Linked DNA regions of Homo sapiens: region 1 is linked to region 2. The links are contacts of gene promoters, found by promoter capture Hi-C in blood cells and fetal thymus (Javierre and others, 2016). All regions are on one chromosome and are shown on one strand. Each heading gives the region's core, a stretch centred on a gene start or on the middle of the fragment in contact. The rest is flanking DNA. Distances are from core to core; before and after follow the strand shown.

Evidence for each region. The method cuts DNA at HindIII sites, captures the fragments that hold promoters and counts their contacts. A CHiCAGO score of 5 or more calls a contact.
Region 1: a fragment that was not itself captured here is called in contact with the fragment with the promoter of WNT11 in region 2 in 1 of 17 cell types (megakaryocytes); the score reaches 5.1 in megakaryocytes.

Annotation. Positions count from the first base shown.
Region 1 is chr11:75,920,412-75,924,071 of GRCh38, reverse strand. The region is part of intron 6 of UVRAG (UV radiation resistance associated); the gene reads right to left. Among named protein-coding and RNA genes, the nearest start is that of UVRAG, 110 kb to the right of the region's middle. The HindIII fragment of the contact is 1,368 bases long and covers 650-2,017 here.
Region 2 is chr11:76,204,392-76,208,008 of GRCh38, reverse strand. WNT11 (Wnt family member 11) reads left to right here and starts at 1,507. Exons shown (of 5, transcript NM_004626.3): 1 at 1,507-1,684. The coding sequence starts at 1,602. RefSeq lists silencers at 155-374, 1,355-1,594 and an enhancer at 383-1,050. The HindIII fragment of the contact is 7,460 bases long and covers 1-2,539 here.

The sequences.
Region 1 (3,660 bases), core at 84-2,583, 280 kb after region 2:
GATATAAATTCCCTGAACGTATATAGTCCACATTCTCCATTCTCATTCTGAGAAACACTTTAAGGCAAAAGTATCTGAAATATTTTGTTTTAGTTTACATGAAAAAAGTTATTACAATTTCAACATCAGAGAGCATCCTGTCCAAGAAGAGGTCATAATGTAACAACATTTCTAACTACAACATTAGAGTAGTTTCTGGTCTTAATTAGAAAATGTGCTGTAAATTATTGAAATTATTAAAAGAATTATAAAATAAAACTATGTGCATTATTTCAGCAATAATGTTGGAAATCTAGAGGAAATAGGTGGTTTCCTACCAAAAAACAAATTCCAAAATAAACCAAGGAGAAGCAGGAAAAAATGGACAGAGCGATGAGTACTAAAGGGATTGAAAGAAGATTTACCCTTATAAAATGCACCTGAACTGGATGATTTACTAGCTAAGTCCTAACCTTCAAAGAACTAAAAACTTTCAAAATTATTTAATCTGTTTCAGATGGTAATGATGATAATGATAGCTGACACATACAATTCAGGCACTGTACTAAGCAGTTCACATTAATACCTTTCATCTTCCCAGCGATCCAGAGACAAATGCTATTATCATCATCATTTTACAGATTAGGATCATAGAATAAGATGGAAAGCTTCACAATTCATTCACAACTCAATTTTATGATTTTGGGAGAGACGGTAATTTATACCTCCCCCCATAACAACAACACAACTGCTAAAAACTAATCTTGCTTATAAGTAATGATCAAAAGAATAACCTATAACTAGTCAGTAATACAACACTGGGAAATCCACATACCTTATTACAATTATAAAGGAAGAAAATATATAATATTAATAAATGTGGAAAGGCATTTCAAAAAATTCAGCAACCAATCCTAACAAAAGCATTAAGTGAATAAAAAGAATTATTTAAAATATTTTCCTTTTTGAGGCGGAGGTTGCAGTGAGTCAAGATCGAGCCATTGCACTCCAGCACGGGCAACAAGAGCAAAACTCCGTCTCAAAAAGAAAAAGAAAAAGAAAAACGAACATATATATATATATATATATGAAAAAATATATGTATATATATTTTTTTCTTATATATATATGTTCGTTTTTCTTTTTTTTTTTTTCCTTTCAGATGTAGTTTCGCTCTTGTCGCCCAGACTGGGGTGCAGTGGTGCAATCTCGGCTCATCACAACCTCCGCTGCCTGGGTTCAAGTGATTCTCCTGCCTCAGGAATTACAGGTGCGTGCCACCACGCCCAGCTAATTTTTGTATTTTTAGTAGAGACGGGGTTTCGCCATGTTGGCCAGGCTGGTCTTGAACTCCTGACCTCAGGTGATCCACCTGCCTAGGCCTTCCAAAGTGCTGGGATTACAGGCATGAGCCACCACGCCCGGCCAATAGTTTTCAAAATTAACAGAAAATATTCTGAACAGCAAACTACTGAACTTTTTCAATTAGAACAAGGAACTGGGATGGTCACAATGCCTATTACTTTTCAACATTATTCTGAAAGTTCCAGAAGGTTTAGCAAATGCAGTAAGTCTAGAAAATCAGTATAAACATTAGAGAAGAAAAGCCTATCCTTTTACTGATGATAATGTGTATGCCAAAAAAGGAGAGCTTTCCTTAAAAAAACAATAGCAATAAAAACAATTAGATATATTACTAAATATAAATAAGATTTTCCTAGAAGTATAGCTTTTCCTTATAATAGCAGTAAGCACACAAGAATGGAATGGAACACCTATTTTATACAAAATACTGTAAAAACTATAACATACTTAAGAACAAATGTAACAGAAAGCCAAATGACCATATAAAGAGAACTACAATCTTGTTGAAGGAATAAAATAAAATATAAACAAATGAAAAGACACCATGTTCTTGGATGGGTATACTAATATAAAATGACATCTTTCCCAAAATAATTGTAAAACTTCAACTGATATAAAAATTTCGATTAAAATTCCAATAAGATTGGTCTTTTAAAGTAGGATAAAATAAGCTTAAAGTTCACATAAAAGAATAAAGTTCTGAGAATAGCCAAAAATAGTATCAAAAAGAAGAGTAGCAACAGGACGTGCCTTACTTGATTTTAGACCACACAAAAAAATCCCCTGTAGTTAAATCAATCTGAAAGTTACAAAATACACAAAAGGATAAGATAAACAAAAAAAGAGCGAATCCAGAAATAGATCCCAGTATATATGCACTTTTAATATATTACAAAAGTATTATTTAAATTCAGTGGGAAAAGAAAGGTGCTGGCACAATGAATTCATCTATGAAGAAATAATTTCTACCTTACAAGATATGGACTATCTATACTAGATATCAGTGTGCAGATGGGTGGATTAAAAGAAAAAAAAAATAAATTGCAATTTGTATTAAATATTTAATTTAAAAAGTAAAATAATATAAATCTCAAAGTTAGCAAAAAATATCTATAGAAGCAAGGTATAGGAGAGTCCTCTTCAACTCAAGAGTGCCCAGAAAATATAAAACAGAAAACAGAATTACACGATACAACAAATATGAACTTTTTGTATAAGGTATCATAAGTCAAGATGTAATTGTCAGATTTGGGAAAAAAATACCAAGTACTCTTAGGAACTTATGAGAAAAATGCAAGCAACTCAATTTTTAAAAACTAGGTAAAGTAAATGAATAGGCAAATTCACAGAAGAATACCCTAAATAGCTAATAAGCTTAAGAAAACATGTTAAATTTCACTTGTAGCTCAAACTAAGTACTTGCACCAGGCTGACAAAAATTGAAGTAATACTGAGGTATCATTTACACTCATCAAATTAGTAAAAATCATAAAAATTGATGATGGCCATTGCCAGCACAGAATCAGGGTAAGGAGTAATGCCATTTATTTTGTGCCCTTTGGGAAAACAACCTGATTATCTCTAACAATTGAAACAATACATACCCTTTGACTCAGAAATCCCACTGCTGGGAATGTAATCCATGGAAACAAAATCATCATAAAAACAAGGTTATATATGTGTATAAATATTTCCTTCAGTAATGTGCATACTGTCAAAACAAACACGCATTAAAAACCAGAGCCAGAGTAAATATTATATTAAATGCCTATCAATAGGGTAGTGGCTGAATAAATATGATATAGCCTCACCACTGACTATTATTAAGCCATTTAAAAAGTGAATTAGAGGAATGTATGCATAGAATATTGAACAAGAAACCCAAGTATGTGTATCAACTCCAATTTTATAAAACAATTTTAATTTTATAAATTAATTCAAACCATATACATAAACCATAAATTATATAGAAAACATATATAAATGTATCTATAAATCATATCTATGACATATAGAGAGACTATGGGAAAAAATACAGATGGATACATATCAGATTGTTAACATGGGTGAAGGGTGACTAGGGGTCATGCGGACCTATGTTCTGTGTTTGGGTGGTTTGCTGGCAGCGGAATGGGGGAAAAGGGCTTAAAGAAGAAGATGAGCCAAAAAGTACAAGGAAAGGGGAAGGAGAAGACTTCACCCTATAATTACTCCCGTATTTTGCTTAAATCCTATTTTTGTAAAACTGTGTGTGTGTGTATATGTGTGTCTTTATGTGTATGTATACATACATAGATATATTTATAGTATATGTAG
Region 2 (3,617 bases), core at 258-2,757:
TACCGTGGGCGCCTCCTTTTCCAACTCCCCAAACCCTTAGAAAGGAATCCCTTTGTCTCTGCTCCTCCCGAGGGGAGAGGGGCTGGGGCTGTGTCTGACTCCGGGCGAACGCCAGGTGTTGGTAAATTTGGGAGAAGCTGGGAAGGGAGTTAATGAGGTGAGAATGAAGTGAAGGAGAAAAAAAGCGGAGATAGCTGCTCCGCGGGCTGCGGGCGGGCGGGGCAGCCTCTCCTCCGCGGCCCGAGGGCGCCGCCTGGAGGCCAGAGGCAACACCGCGCCAGCCCCGCGAGCTTCCCCGCTTCGCTAAGGCGGGGCTGCCCAGTCCCAGCCCGCATGCTTCCACTCCCACCCTCCAAAGTGGAGCGGCTAAAGACGGACTTGGAGACTCGGAATCCTCACTGTACAAAGAGCCCTACCATCCCGTTTCCCATCCTCCCCTTCCCACACCGAGAAAGCAGGGCCCCGAGCAAGCCCCATTTCCTGATTTCGCCGGACACCCGGCTTGCCGCTCCCTAGCTGAACCCCACCTCTGTGCCTCAGTTTCCTCATCTGTGAGATGAGGCAGCGATAGTGCCTATCTCACGGGGTGCTGGGAGGAGCAGATGCGATCGTGTTAGGGAACTTTTTTTGTTTGTCTGTTTGTTTGAGACGGAGTTTCGCTCTTGTCGCCCAGGCTAGAGTGCAGTGGCGCAATCTCCGCTCGCTGCAACCTCCGCCTCCCGGGTTCAAGCGGTTCTCCTGCCTCAGCCTCCCGAGTAGCTGGGATTACAGGCGCCCGCCACCACGCCCGGCTAATTTTTTGTATTCGTAGTAGAGACGGGGTTTTGCCATGTTGGGCAGGCTGGTCTCGAGCTCCTGACCTCAGGTGACCCGCCCGCCTCGACCTCCCAAAGTGCTGGGATTACAGGCGTGAGCCACCCTGCCCGGCCAGGGAACGTTCTTTATAAAAGCGGAATTGTGCCCGAATTGCCCCAGCTTACTGAGGAGGTAAACTGAAACACGTTTGGGAAGGAGAATTGCCGAGGCCCTATTAACTAATGCTCAATATTGCAGGGATAAGCCCCAGCTCCGGGTCCTCGACTCTGCTGCCTCGCCTGGACTCCTGATTCCTCATTCCTCTCCTTTCCGTCCCAGGTTGCGTCTGTCCGGGTTTCCCCCTCTGTCTCCGTGGCTCTCAGCCTTGTCCTCTGAGCGTCCTTCTCCCTCTCGCTGTGTCTGCCCGGTCTCTCCTGGGTCTCCGGTTCTGCCGCCTCCTGTCCCTCCTTCCGGCTGCCCCGGCCAGAGGGGCTCGAAGGCGCGTTGGGGCCCGGGGCCACGCTGGGAGACACGCCTTCGGCCGCGCCTAATTCGAGCCAGGCGCGGGACGCGTCCCCCGGCCGGGCGGAGCGGGAGGGGACGCCCGCCGCGCTCGGCCTCCCCGGGCCCCGACCCCTCCTTTGTAATTTGAATAAAACGCCTCCCCCGCCCGCGCGCCGCCTTAACCCGCCGCCTCCGCTCTCCCCGGCTGCAGGCGGCGTGCAGGACCAGCGGCGGCCGTGCAGGCGGAGGACTTCGGCGCGGCTCCTCCTGGGTGTGACCCCGGGCGCGCCCGCCGCGCGACGATGAGGGCGCGGCCGCAGGTCTGCGAGGCGCTGCTCTTCGCCCTGGCGCTCCAGACCGGCGTGTGCTATGGCATCAAGTGGCTGTGAGTAGGGACCCCGCGTCCACGCGCACAGGCCAGGGACTGGGGCGGCGGAGGGCGTTTTGGGGTCCCCTGGATGGGGCGAGCGCACCAAGACCCGGGAGCCTAAGCTGGCTTGGCGGTCGTGGGCAAGTCATCCCTCAGCCTCTGTTTCCTCCTCTGTAAAATGTCCCTGCCTCCCGCAGGCTTGCGAAAAGGGAGTGAGACGGGCGTGGACCACAATGGAAGCGCCTGGTCCTGTGCAGCTGACGGTGGCGCAAGGGCCACGGAGTTTCTGGCCACCTCCGCAGGGGCAGATGGAAAAAGACATTCTGTTCAGGGGGCGCAATCCAGAGCGGCCAGCCCAGGAGCGGTCCTTGTCCGTCAGTCTCCTTGACCCTAGCGGGAGTTCCGCTGAGACACTCCTGACCCCTCCACCTGGGCGACCTTGGGAAAGTGTCACTCTACTTCTTGGGGCCTCCTTGTCCTCCTCTGTCACGGGAGGGTGAGACTCCCCACCTCCCTCAAATCAGATGAGAAGAGGCTCCTGAAAGGACCTCAGAAGCTGTCAGATGCCACTGTGCACATGTGCAGGGCATTCCTTTAGATAGAAATTATTCACGCAGGGGTAGGAGGGAGAGAGAGGCTTGGTGCCGAGCTGAAGGGAGTGCCTGCTCAGGGGGCTGGGGGTGGTGAAGAGAGGAGTAAACACCAGCCCCTTCCCGGAGGAGCTGCGCTCTAAGTTGAGAGAGATAAGCCCAGGCTGTAAATAACTCCACAAGTGTCCAAGTGCCCGAGGAGAAACCAGAGCGGGAATCTGGAGGCCTAGAGGAAGGAAGCCCACCTGGTGGGGACACAGATGTGAGACACCGGGAAGCTTTTCCGAGGCTGTGCCTCTGGTGACTGAAGCGCTGCTGGGAGTTGGCTGGTTCGGGCAATGGAGAGGACGCTGTGGGCAGAGGGGCTCCCTGAGAGGGAAAGTCCAGGACAGGACAAGGGTCTGGAATCTGGGGCCAGGGCAGGGAGCCTGCAGATAAGACAGCAGGGGGCAGGTTGTGGGGGCTGGGGAGGGCGCTGCAAAGGGTTTGTGAATTAGTTGGAAGACAGGGTGATAGTGGCTGCGCCGCCAGCAAACAGTCTGGAGGTCACTGGCCCTGCCCCTTCTCAGGCCAAGTTATTGATTAATTGACGATTCGAGGAGGGAACCCCGTCTTCCTGCCTTTCTTGTTTACAAGAAGCCTGGTCTCAGCAATCTCCCAGCCCTGGGCACTAGCTTTTCCCAGCTGTCCCTGAGGAGTTCTGTGAGAAACCAGCCACCTTCCTTTTGCAATGGGGTACCCAGCACTGTTCCAGCTGGCAGGGACCTCCGATCAGCGAGTCCAAGCTCTCTCATCCACCGCCACCATTTTACAGATAAGGATACTAAGGTCCAGGGAAGGAGAGGATTGGCTGAAGGAGCGTCAGAGGCCTTGCAGTGGGCTTGGGTGTCATTTGCCGCCCATAAGAGTCCTGTGGGGTCACTGCCATCATCCCTGCTCCACAGTGGGAACACCGAGACCCTGCAAAGGGCATGATGCACGCAAGCCCCCACGCTGGCCTGTGGTGGGATGGACGGCTGGCTAAACCTGACGTCCATGTCCTCTGTCCCCACTGCAAAGTCAGGCTGCCACAGAAATGGGTACAACTCATTGTGTGCCTTAAATAAGCCCCCAGGCTCTTGGGGGAGATGGACATATAGAAATACAAAGTGGACTATGGTCTGTGTCCTAGCAGAGGGAGCATGGCAGCCCAGAGGAGGAGTGATCAGTTCTATCTAAGGGAGATGCATAGGCCAGGATTGGAAGGACAGGGAGGATTTGGATGGTCAGAGACGGAGTGCAAAGCAGGCGTCCTAGGCGGGAGGCACAGCACGAGCAGAAGCCTGGAGGCCGAACAGCGCATGCGGGGAGACCTGGAG